Regions from separate parts of the Homo sapiens genome. Here region 1 is linked to region 2. Evidence: promoter capture Hi-C in human tissues and cell types (Jung and others, 2019). All regions are on one chromosome and are shown on one strand. Each heading gives the region's core, a stretch centred on a gene start or on the middle of the fragment in contact. The rest is flanking DNA. Distances are from core to core; before and after follow the strand shown. Region 1 overlaps ACSF3 (acyl-CoA synthetase family member 3). Region 2 holds the start of RNF166 (ring finger protein 166).

Region 1 (6,490 bases), core at 2,983-5,482, 410 kb after region 2:
TGCTGTGTTGTCTGAAGCTTTCAAGCTGTTCTCCAGAGCGGCTACACCATCCCCTTCCCCCTGCAATGGGTGGGAGGTCACGAGCACCTGCTGCTCCAGCGGGCGGTGGTGGTGTCTCGTTGAGTTCATGATTCTCTCATGATGGGTGGCGTTGAGCACCTCTTCCTGTTCGTGTCATTCCGTTTTCAACTGGGGCCTTTGTTTTCTTGAGTTTTGAGAGCTTTTAAAATTCGGGACCCAAGTGTCAGCTGTGCGATTTTAAATATCATCTCCCAGCTTGTGGTTTGTCTTCCCATTCACCTAACAGCGTCTTTAAAATCAGGAGTTTTAGGTTTTGGCCCGGTTTATCAATTTGTTTTGTGAATTGTCTGATGTCATATCTAATAAATCCTTGCGTAGCCCAAAGTCACAGAGAATAGTTTCAGCTCTTACGTTTGGGACCATGATCCATTTTGAGTTAATGTTTGTACATAGTGCGAGATACGGACCACAGTTCTTTTTTAGTGTGTGAATGTCTAACTTTTTAGCACTGTTCGTTGAAAAGACTCCCTTCTCCATCGAACAGCCCTTTGGATCTTTGTTGAAAGTCCGTCGACTCCTGAGGGGTCGGCTCCTGGGCTCTGCTCTGTCCCATTGCTTTCCGTGTGCCCTTTGGCTCATTCCATGCCTGCTTGGTTCCTGGGACTCTAGGGTAAGCGTGGACATGGGGGTTCAGGCCCAGGCAGGGACCAGCTGGTGCCAGGCAGCGATACGGTGCTGGGGCCTGCAAGGTGAGTGTGAGGGCTGGCTGGCTGCTGGGCTGGGAGGAGGAGAGACTGTAGGCTCACGCCCCTTTGCTGGGCCTGGGGAGCCATGGGGGCTGTTAAGTGTATTCTGAGTGTAAAGTCTCGGTTTGGCTGGGGCATCCTGAGCAGAATGACAGGGCCATGGCAGCGAGATCCTCAGCTGCCGTGCAGAGCTGCCAGTGGGGTGGCCGCACAGAGTGCAGTGCCTGCTGCAACAGTGCCCAGGGCAGTGGGCGGGTGGGGGCATGTTGTGAAAAGAAGTCAGTGTGAGTGATGAGAAATACATCCTAGTCTCAGACCCCAGGAAACCGCCGTCAGTGCTGGTGGCCCCTGCCCTGGGCCGGCTCCCGCGTTAGTCTCAGACCCCAGGAAACCTCCACCTCCGTCAGTGCTAGCGGCCCCTGCTCTGGGCTGACTCGCGCATCTCCACGATGGCTGCGGCACCAGCTGTTTCTTCGGTGGCTAAAGCTCTCTGGTGGAAATAAGATGGGGACCTTGAAATCAAATGTGACTGGTCTGTTGAGTCTCTGTCCTTATCGTTGTCCTTCTTAGTAGGATGTGCTGGTTTTGTCCAGTGCCACCGGCCACAGTCACCACGTAATATGGACGGAATGAGCAAAGCCCGGCTCGCTGAGGCTGCAGGCTGCAGGCAAGTGAGGACTGAAAGGGTAACGGGCTCTGGGCTTTGTCCTCTCTTTGTTCCGGACATGTGAGCAGGACAAGTTCTGTGTATTCAGAATCTGTCTGCACAGTTTGTAGTTCATGATGACTGTTCATCCACAGCATTGCTTTGTGGGCGTCCTCTCTTTTGATCTTCTCGAAACAGCCCCTGCGATGGGGTCATATTTTGCACTCACATACAAGAACCCATGAGCCTGCCCACGGTCACGCGGCTGGTGAGTGATGCACTTCCCAGGAGCACGGTGACCTCTTCAATGGCCCTCACTAGAGAAGATGGACAGTGCCCCCCTAGCCTTTTTTACTGGAACAGATACAAGGCTGAGAAGCTGAAATCAGGAGCAGCCCAGGGACCACTGTCTACACCGAGGGAGTCATGAGCAGCCCAGGGACCACTGTCTACACCCAGGGAGTCAGGAGCAGCCCGGGGACTGCTGTCTACACCGAGGATGTCAGGAGCAGCCCAGGGACCACTGTCTACACTGAGAGCGTCAGGAGCAGCCCAGGGACCGCCGTCCACACCAAGAGCGCCAAGGAGCAGCCCAGGGACCGCCGTCCACACCGAGGGCGCCAAGGAGCAGATAGTAGCCCAGAGACCCAGGGGAGGCTCAGCTTCCCCACGCTGGAATCAGAACTCCTAGGCGAACAGGAAGGAGCCCCAGACAGATGGCACAGGGAGAGGAGTCCCCGGCTGAGGAGGGGGATCCAGAGACCCTGAAGCTTCAGGGTTATTGGGCAAGAAACCTGAGTGCACCAATCCCCGAGTCTTCAGCTACCGACGGCAGGTTCCCTCGGGTGCCGGGGATGCTCCCTCTTCTCTAAGGCAGAGCCCACAGTAGGTTCCCTCAGGCGCCAAGGACATTCCCTCTTCTCTAAGGCAGAGCCCACAGCAGGTTCCCTCAGGCGCCAGGGACGTTCCCTCTTCTCTAAGGCAGAGCCCACGGCAGGTTCCCTCGGGCGCCGGGGACGCTCTCTCTTCTCTAAGGCAGAGCCCACGGCAGATTCCCTCGGGCGCCGGGGACGCTCTCTCTTCTCTAAGGCAGAGCCTGACGGCAGGTTCCCTCGGGCGCCAGGGATGTTCCCTCTTCTCTAAGGCAGAGCATACGGCAGTTTCCCTGGGGCGCCGGGGACGCTCCCTCTTCTCTAAGGCAGAATCAAATATCTGTGATTTTATCCTTGCCTTTAAATCACCAGCAGTGTGAGTTCTTTGGTTTGGAAAAAAGTAAGTAAAGTCACCTCAGCATTAAATCCAATATGCCCCACAAAAACTCCAAAATGCAGCCTCCTGAGCCATGTTTCTAGAGGGCACGGTGGAGGAGAGCTTTCCTCACTCTCAGGCTCTAACCCCCACCCTGGTGGCCATGGCCTTGACCCTTGGGTCGGCTCCAGCCACAGGCTCTGAGCTCATGCTTGGCCTCGCTGCTCAGTGCACTGTCCGTGCTCGGAAGAGAGAGAAGCTGGGTGGAGGGTGAGCTCTGTCGTGTGTTATGGTTACAGGCCTGCTCCGTGCGGTTCCTGTGGAGGGAGATGAATAATTCATGGCCGACCACTGCTGGGCCTCGTCACACTCTAATTGGAGGTTGAGCTCAGAGGTGCTCACGGCTCCTGGGCCACTCTGTGGCATTGACAGGGAGCTCCAGGGCCTCATTGGCGGTTTCCGTTCCCTGGGTCCCAGTCCCCAGTCAGAGTTATCAGGGAGGGGCTGGCTGACAGCGATTTTAGAGGTGGGCTGTGGCAGGAAGGCAGTGCCCCCCACCTGCCTGCAGCTGCGCTCCCATCTACATTGGCCTTTGCGGGGCCAGCCTCTGTCCACTCTCTTGAGCTCTCATGTCCACACTGTCACATGCCCGGGGCACAGCGAGCGGCACCTGGAGTGTGGGGACCCCTCCCTCGAGCTCTCACGGGTGGCACCTGGAGTGTGGGGGCCCCTGCCTCAAGCTTTCATGGGTGGCACCTGGAGTGTGGGGGCCCCTCCCTGAAGCTCTCACGGGCGGCACCTGGAGTGTGGGGGCCACTCCTTGAGCTCTCATGGACAATACCACTGCTTGGCTGCTGCAGAATCCAGACACCATCCCAGAGCCTCTTCAGCCTCTGCAGATGGTGTGGGACGGCCACACGGCCTCCCCACCTGCGGCCCCCGCCCCTACCCCAGCCGTGCCGTGTCCTTGCGCTGCGTCCCCGCCCCAGTAGAGGCATCACCAGGAAGAGGCGAAAGGCCGCCTGTGATGGTCCTCTTCTTATGAAACGCCCAGAACAGAAAAACCACGGACGCGGACAGCAGACCTGGTGCCAGGTCTGGGGAGGGAGGGTGTGGCGGTCGTGGGCTGTGCGGGAGTTCTGACTAGGGGAAGTGGGGGGCTGTGCAATGTGTGTGCGGAACACCGCCGTGCCGCGCACTGAAATGGGAAGTCATGTGTTATGCGGGTTTCACCCCCATTTAAAAATCTTCAGAAGCAAAACATAAAGGAGGAGAAAGGATGGAAGAAAGGGGGCTGAAGCTGGCCCCGCCACACCCCCCATAGTGGTGACACGGGTTTCTGACCAGAGTGGAGGTTCGGGGCGTCTGCATACCTGGAACCACAGAGAACTCCCGAGGTGACACTCCGCACACCACACTAGCCCGGCTTCGCCTGCAGGACCCCAGGTGTGGACAGGCCCAGCAGGATCAGCAAGACCGAGCCGGGCACCGACAGCCCCTCACCAAGCGTCTGGAGGCCGGGACGCCCCATGGATTGCAGAGTTCACTGCACTGACCCTCGATGCTGACCCTTGAAGTGCCGGAAATCTCAGCGTGGACTCAGACATGATAAGCGTTCAGGCACTCCCCTGACGCAGGCCAGGGCAAAGGCCTCACGCCCCGGGATAGACAGGAAGTCCCACGTCTGCTCTGCCCCTAGGTCATGCCCGTGCTGACGCCACATCGCCAGGGCCGCACTCCATGAGCAGCCTCTGCCGTCCCACCAGCAACCTAAACCACAGGCAGAGCGAGGCTGCGGCAGCCCTGCGTGTGCCGGCGGGACACGTCTCGCCACCTGGGCTCTGCCCCCACCCCGGCCAGTGTAAGATATGATTTTAGCCACGTTGAGACTGTGCAGGTGGGATGGATACACTGAGCAAATCATGGGTGTCTAATAAATGAGCCAGTACAAAGTGTGGTCCACCTGCCATGCAGAGTTCAGGACAGCCCCTCCTGGGGACATAGGGCAGATCCTGCCTTAGCCCGTCGTGTGCCGGGCACACACAGGTCCCCTCATCGTGGACAGCCCCGGGGCCATCAGGGCAAGGCGCCAGCCCTCCCTGGCCAGCAAGTGTGTAAAAGTGGGAATGACACCAGAATCTGTGGGCAGCTGTGAGGCTTTGGGAAGTAACTGGGAAAGTGATGTATGAGGGGCCCAGGGCAGGCCAGGCCCAGCGTGCCACGTGAGTGCCTGCTGTGCCACATGGCCATCACTGTGGCATCGGCTGGGCCTGAGCACACCGTGCTTGCCAGCCACGTATCGTGTGGCTTTTCACCTGCTGGTGCCTACACCATCTTCTCTCTGGGTCACAGGGCACGTCGCTCCCTCCACACAGACTCCCGCACGTGGCACACGGGAGCTCAGCGGGATCCGAGCTCAGTGTGTGCTTCTCTCCTCCAGGTTCCTCTCACTCCAGCCTCCCCTTCAGTGTTTCTCCTCTCCTGTAGGTTCCGTGGGGACCCCACTGCCTGGAGTACAGGTGCGCATTGTCTCAGAAAACCCACAGAGGGAAGCCTGCTCCTACACCATCCACGCAGAGGGAGACGAGAGGGGGACCAAGGTAAGCCACTCTGCTCTTGGCAGGTGGGCGGCCGTGTGTCCAGTCTAGGCCCCCCAGGGTGGTTACACTGGTGCATCTTTCCCCTGGAGGCAGACTCCCCTCCACGCAGGGGACCAGCCCCCTGGACACTGCAGGTGCTGGCTGGTGTTGCAAGGGCACTGGCTGGTGTTCTGGGCCCTGCCTGCTGCGTGTCCGTCTGTGCGTTCACAGAGCAGTGGGCAGAGGGAGCCCAGGGCGGAACGCCAAAGGGACTCACACCCGGGCACACAGCTCCTCCCAGGGGCCCTGTCCACGGGGACAGGCTGACGTGGGCCATGATGGCCTTGGCTAAGCGGAAGAGATAAAGAGCAGAGGCCGTTGTTGTTGATGGGAATCTGGTTAGAAATATGAACTGGCCTGACCCTGGCACCCGTCCTGAGGGGACGCTGACCACAGGCCCCCATAGTAGGTGTGGGGAGATTCACGGGGCCCTGCACGCGGAGGTGGGTGCCTGTGCAGTGCTCTGTGGCTGCCTCCTTGTCTTGTGCGTTATTCTAAAGCTGACAAGGGTGAACAAGAACAAAGGACATTGTCTCATTTCTGTGAGGATTTTAACATGAGAGTCTGCTCATCACACGTGAACTCATCACAGAGAAAGGTTTAGGGATTATGGGGAAATGGAATCTTGATTTAAAAGGAAATTATTTTCTCTGAAGCCAGTATCCACACCTGATACCACACATGATTGACTGTGTTGCCCTGAGGTTTTCAAAGATCGAGGGATCCTGAGTCTCATCTCTGTGCATTTCCTTCTCTGTGACACCATCTTGGCCCTCACGGGCACAACTGAGCTCCCTGTGCAGAGGCTGAGGGGCCGTGGGCCTTGCTCTCGTGAGTGAACAGCCACACGCCCTCCTTGTACCTTGGTTTCCACACATGACCACGTGAGGGTTGGAGCGATGGTCGTGGTTGGACGTTTTAGCTCCAGCAACCAAGTAGGATGTGGGTGGCTTTCAGTGTCATTAAATGACACTGAAAGGTGCAGTGGCCGCACCTTGTGTGGAGGGCCACACGGCGTGTCCCGCCTGGCCTGGGCCCCCCGCAGTGGGCTGTTATCCCCCGTGGCCCTGAAGTGGGTATTCTGTTTCCCCGTGGAAACCTCTCACCTGGGGCCACCTGCAGTGGCCGCACCTTGTGTGGAGGGCCGCACAGTGTGTCCCGCCTGGCCTGGGCCACCCGCAGTGGGCTGT
Region 2 (6,136 bases), core at 1,804-4,303:
GCCACGGGCTGAGGGGAAGGAAAAGGGTCCCAGGCAGAGCTTGGGAAGAGAGGAAAGGTGCCCAGAAGGTTGGCTGGGAGGAAGACAGCCTCGTCCTCCCCGGAAGGACTCAGGAAAGACACAAGAGGGAACCCAGCCCGACTGGCAGGGCGGCTGGGCCCGAGGAGCAGGAGGCAGAACGAGGCACCCACAGGGTGGGTGCTCTATCGGCCTAGTTTCCAGTGACTGCCAGCCTGGTGTTCAGAGAGCCAGCAGCCGGGAGTAGTGCCCGCTTCCCCCACAGGAAGTTCCTGTCTGCGCCCACCCAGGGGCTGGTGCTGAGCAGCTTCTCAGCTGAAGGAAGTGGCTGAGGGCGATGGGTGTGGGGGCGTCGACAGCCTTACAAAGGGAGGGGCGATCGCGCACTGGCCCTCCCAGCAGGCACCCGGGACTGCCAATGTGTCTCCCACACTGGCCGCTGCACAAGCTGAGAAGCTGGGACGGCCCGTGCCTCAGGGATCTGCCTGGCTGGCAGGCCAGCACCCTCAGCAAGCCCCACAGCTGTCCTGCACGAGTGGAGGCTGCTCACACAGCCCTTCCAGGCAGGTTCGTGATCACGCGTGTCCTGGCCCACAGGCTTCTGGTTACAGAGGTGGCTCACTGCTCAGACTGTCCCCTGGCTGAGAACAGCTCCTGCTGGGCCCCCAGGGGGCCTCCTGCGCGAGGGCTAGAGCAGGGTGCATGCCCCCACACTGGGATACTCTTGCCATGAGAGATCTACCCTGGAGGAGGAAGTTGCTCTGGTTGGGGAGCTTGCGGAGGGGACAGAACCAGACCAGCAACAAACTTCCGAAGGGAACCTGAAGAGCCTTTAAACTTTCTGTGGTCATTTGCATGCATGCCTTAGCAACACCAACAAGAAACAAAGTTAGAAGCAGAGAGAGAACAGCCAGAAAACAAAAGCCAGCAGGAAAAGTCGGGGAGAAAAATCTTTGAAAGGCAAAGGCTGTGTGAAAAGCTCTTGCAGGACCCGCGGTGAGACTAGGATGGTCGTCATTCTACCAAGAAAAGCATGGCAGAGGGGAGTTTTATAGGAAAGATGCTCCACAATTCCATGTGGTTCTGCATTCTGTGTTATGGAAACTACATTTTAGGAAAAGACATATTTGAAAAAGAAGGGCAAAGACCAATTTGTGCAGGTTAGGAAAGTGGAGATGCTGTGGCCGACCACACGGTGAAGGTGTTGGCACCCAAAGCCTACGGGAGGCTTTTCTAAAACAAGGCCTAAGTCAAGCCTCACAGCGCTCAGTAACAGATGAGAAGGTGCGGAACACACCTTCAAACACCCGCTACCTGCTCACAAGAAGGAAGTCCTGCCAGGCGCGGTGGCTCACGCCTGTCATCCCAGCACTTTGGGAGGCTGAGACGGGCAGGTCACCGGAGGTCAGGAGTTCGAGACCAGCCTGGCCAACATGGTGAAACCCCTTGTCTACTAAAAATACAGCAATTAGCCGGGCGTGGTGGCGGGTGCCTGTAATCCCAGCTACTCTGGAGGCTGAGGCAGGAGGATCACTTGAACCCAGGAGATGGAGGTTGCGGTGAGCCGAGATGGCGCCACTGCACTCCAGGCTGGGTGACAAGAGCAAGACTCTGTCTCAAAAAAAAATATTCCCGTTCAGAGGCTGCCCCCCCAAAATGTCACGGCTAAGTGAGATGGAGGAGCAGGGGCAGAGCCTGTAGCAGCCTCACAAGAGAAGTAGGTAGAGCTGTCCCAGCGTGGGCAGGCGCCTGTGCTGCCTGACACAGGTAATGAAGGCAGCTCTGCATCCTGACACTGGCCCTGCCACCTCCGTGGGTGACCAGCACACATCCACCTAGCAGTCCCAGCTCCCTCTGTACCAGGAGCCCCTGAAGTCAGCTGACTTTGCTTGCAAAATGTTCTAGAGCCTCCTACCAGTCTGGGTGCACCCCCCTCCACTCCACCACCTCAGCAGCTTGGATGTCTGCGGGGAAGCCCTCCTGCTCTCTCTCTCCCCTGCCACTGCTGATTTTGCTCAAGAGCTGTATTATTCAGCACTTAGGAGGGAGCAGACACTGATCTAGGCTTCCTCCCAACGGGGCTGGCAGCTCCAGAATACTTGAGCACAGCTCCCCGCCAGGAGAGCCACGTCCTCCAGTTTCTGTTCCTGAAACACCCTGGAGGAGCCGGCTGTGAGCCCTGGTGCAGCTGGAAACCCCAGCAAGGTGGTCAGTGTCTGCTCCTCTGTGGACCAGCCTGCCTGGCTACTCAGTGATCGGTGTGACTCAAGTTCTCCTTCAAACAAAACTAAGAACATCAGACTCCAAACAAGCCCCTCTAAACTTTAGGGAACTCCTTTCCTCTGTAGTCAAAACAGGCAGACAGCGGGTCCGAACAAGAGTTGATAGCAAAAACTACAAGTTATTTATTTACAACTGCCCATTCCAGCCGCACAAGCCCAAATCCACCACCACTGGCGGAGCGGTGGCACCTGCTGCCCTCTGAGTACCGGAGCGCCCGCCGCAGCCGCCGGGGACCCCGAGCTTGGGCAGGGCCGCAGGTCGCCCGGTGAACCGAAGCAGCAGTCGGACCGGGCGCCTGCGGCTGGCGCGAAGGAGGCTGGGCGGGGGATGAACGCGCCCAGAGGGCAGAGGCGGCGCGGCACAGGGAAACCCGGACCCCACGCGCCCCGAGGCCCCGGCGCCCCGAGTCCCCGCGCGCCCAGTCCGGAGCTGCACCGGGGCGGCCGCCGGCCTCGCGACCCCTCCCGCGGCGGGGCACGGCCCCCTCCCCGCGGCCCCTGGGCGGGCGCGCTCACGTGTGGCCGCAGCTGCCGATGGCCACGGGCCGGTGATAGACCTCCAGGCAGATGGGGCAGGTGTACTGCGCCTCCAGGCCGCTGTCGCCGCCCGCCGGCCCGGCCGGCGGCTGCCGCTGCTGAGCCGAGGCCACCAGGCTGCGGAACATAGCCATCCCGGGGCCAGGCCCGCGCCGCCCGCCGCCCGCTGTCCTGGCCCGGGCCGGCCCGCTAGTCACAGCCGCTACTGCGCCGCGCTGACGTCATCGTAGGGCGCCGCCCCCAGCCGGGCTTCGCGGCCGTCACGGCGCCACTCCGACGTCATCGGGGCGCGCCCTCGCGCTGTCGCCGCCACAGTCTGCGACGGGACCCGGCGTGCCCATGTGTCAGGTGGGCGAGGACTACGGGGAGCCGGCGCCTGAGGAGCCGCCCCCGGCGCCGCGGCCCAGGTAAGAGCTGGCGGCCGGACCCGCCAGGCCGCCCCTCGCCTTCCCGCCGCACTCCTGCCCCGAAGGGTCCCGGCCGGGCTTGCTCCGGGAAGCCCCGCGTGGAGAGCGGGACCTCGCTCCCTAGCACTCGGGGAATGCCTGTCAAGCGGTGACGGCCACCTAGAAGGGGACTTACTCCACTGGCTCGCGCCTCTCATCCTAGCAGCCACTGGGGACGGCTCTGCCGCTGACAGTGCTGTCCTTATTCGGAGAGAACTGGTGCCGTGAAGCTGTCTCGCCTCCCCGTGTCAGCCTTGGGAGACTGAAAAGCGGCCTTTATGTGCCCCCTGAGCCGGCTTTTCTAGGCTAAACATCCCCCCAGAGCCTTTGTTTTTCTTGAAGTTTGGACAGAACACAAGCCTGGGTTTGTGTGTGTACCGAGGTGCCTTTCTCTGACCCAACTCAGGGTGAGAAACAGGAGCTGTCTCCCCAAAGCCCACTAGGCGTGGGGAAGATGTGATCTGTGTTTCTCTCTTCTCCCCCCTCCCATCTCCAAAGCCGTGAGCAGAAGTGTGTGAAGTGCAAGGAAGCGCAGCCCGTTGTGGTGATACGAGCCGGAGATGCCTTCTGCAGGTGAGGCCTGGAGGTGGCTGAGACCCTGGCAAACATGGCCTCGCTAGCAGACAGGATAGCCGCAACTTGTGATGCTTTGTTAATTCTTTTTAAAAACATGTACTTACTTTATTCCTGCTCCTGATGGGGTCCCTCGTGCCCCTGGTGTTGAAGTGGAGGCGAAAGCATTGGTTTCCTGCTTGGGAAAGTTTCCCATGAGCTAGCCACAGATCCCCTGATGAGGTTTCTGATGGAACTTATGGGGACAGTTGGAAGTGGGGCCGTGGTGTCTAGACTGGGATAAGCTGTAGGAGGACCAGGCGTTTGGGGGCAGCTGGAATACATCTAGGGGCGGATCAGAGCATCTTGGGAACTTGGCAGATGGTCTGGGTGAAAGTTTTTAATCTCGTGTGAGATGCTTGTTTCATCTGTGGCAGGATAGAGGCTTGGAAGACCTCTAGCTTTCCCCCAGGCGCTTGTCATGTCTTTCTTGGCTTGTAGCCATTGTATTGTTCAGTTGTTTCCACTAGACTCATAGCTCCCTGAAGGGAGGACCAGGTCTCTCTCCTTTTAGCCCTCTTAATTCCCAGTGGTGGTGCGTGGTTTTTTTGTTGTTGTTGTTGTTTTTTTTGAGATGGAGTCTCCCTCTGTCACCCAGGCTGGAGTGCAACAGCTGGAGTGCATGATCCCAGCTCACTGCAACCTTTACCTCCTGGGTTCAAGTGATTCTCCTGCCTCAGCCTCCTGAGTAGCTGGGATTACAGGTGCCTGCCATCATGCCCGGCCAATTGTTTTTGTATTTTTAGTAGAGACAGGGTTTCACCATGTTGGCCAGGCTGGTTTCGAACTCCTGACCTCAAGTGATCCACCTGCCTCGGCCTCCCAAAGTGCTGGGATTACAGGCATGAGCCACCACACCTGGCCAAGATAGGTACTTCTTTAACCACCCAGGAGCATCTGAAATTGCCAAGAACACCAGGCTGCCGGCAGAATTCACTGAGGAGAGGCTGCTGTGGCTGTATGCTAGGCCCTTGTGGCCAGAAGGGCTTTTGCTGTGCTTGCTGGTCCCAAGGAACAGTGGGGAGCCGGCTCTCTAGGGGAAGGCCTTAGGAATCTACATCGAGCTGGGATCCCCAGGGATCATTCAGGTCAGCACGTGGGAGAAACCTTGGCCTTCCCTGACCCACAGGGGACAGCGTGGTTTCAGGAGCCCAGACGCAGCATGTACACGTGGACCCACCACGCTTGAATCCCAGCTGGTGGTGTAGGGCGCAGAGGCTCTCCTGGTCCACAGTGCGGAGGTGAAGCCCAGCACCTGTGTCTCCTTGTATGAGACTCCCCACGCCCAAAGCTGGGTCCTGGGGGTCACTTCCCATGTCCCAGCCTTGATACTTGCCAGTTACCTGCAGTCCCTCACCTGGCATCTTGCTGTTAAACACAGACTTGCTTTACTGTCTGTAAAGGAACCACAGGGGGGTCATTCGGCCTCTTGTACGTGGTATCCATTCAACGTAGGGAGGGACTGCTGTGCACATCAAGTGTGTCTGACAGGAAGGAAGAGACTTAGAGCCCCAGGTGCAGGGTGACTCTTGCAGTGGCATTGTCCGCTCTGTACCGGGTGCTGCTCTTCACCCTGCCTGCCAGGATTGCAGGAGAGCTTTAAAATGCAGACTCCTAGGCCTCACCCCTAGACAATTTGACTTAATTGGTTTGTGCAATTCTAACATACAGCCAGGGCCAAGAACCCCTGACGTAGTGAGCCAGAGTCAGATGGCTGGAAAGTTTATTATGAACAAAGATTACAGCTGGGCGCAGTGGCTCATACCTGGAATCTCAGCACTCTGGGAGGCCCAGGCAGGAGGGTCACTTAAGGCCAGGAGTTTGAGACCAGTCTGGGCAACAAAGTGAGACCTTGTCTCTACAAAAAATACAACAATTAGCTAGGCATGGTGGCATATATCTGTAACCTGTAGTCCTATCTACCTGGGTGGCTGAGGCAGAAGGATCACATGAATCGAGGAGTTTGAGGCTGCAGTGAGCTATAACTGTGGCACTGCACTCCAACCTGGGTGACACATCGAGACCCTGTCTCTTAAAAATGCAGTTCCCAGGCCTGGAAGTTCTGATTCTGTGGGGTTAGGGGAGGAGCCCAGGCCACTCTGTGAGTGAGCCTCTTAGCCATTCCTGGCCCAGTTGAGCCCAGCACACTAAAGATGCCAGCTCTGGGGCCCCAGGATACTGAGCCCTCGCTGTGGCCCACCCCATTTCCGCACTTCACCCCAAAGAGGTGGTGTCTCTGCA

Evidence for each region. The method cuts DNA at HindIII sites, captures the fragments that hold promoters and counts their contacts. A contact is called where the count stands out against the background at its distance.
Region 1: a fragment that was not itself captured here is called in contact with the fragment with the promoter of RNF166 in region 2 in 1 of the 25 tissues and cell types used here (dorsolateral prefrontal cortex).

The regions. Positions count from the first base shown.
Region 1 is chr16:89,115,653-89,122,142 of GRCh38, forward strand. ACSF3 (acyl-CoA synthetase family member 3) reads left to right here. Exons shown (of 11, transcript NM_001243279.3): 7 at 5,149-5,261. Among named protein-coding and RNA genes, the nearest start is that of ACSF3, 25 kb to the left of the region's middle. RefSeq lists a silencer at 2,869-3,163 and an enhancer at 2,869-3,163. The HindIII fragment of the contact is 6,265 bases long and covers 1,101-6,490 here.
Region 2 is chr16:88,703,355-88,709,490 of GRCh38, forward strand. RNF166 (ring finger protein 166) reads right to left here and starts at 3,054. Exons shown (of 6, transcript NM_178841.4): 1 at 2,817-3,054. The coding sequence starts at 2,971. CTU2 (cytosolic thiouridylase subunit 2) reads left to right here and starts at 3,149. Exons shown (of 15, transcript NM_001012759.3): 1 at 3,149-3,244; 2 at 3,782-3,856. The coding sequence starts at 3,177. RefSeq lists an enhancer at 2,529-3,166 and silencers at 2,788-3,067, 3,108-3,417. The HindIII fragment of the contact is 44,302 bases long and covers 1-6,136 here.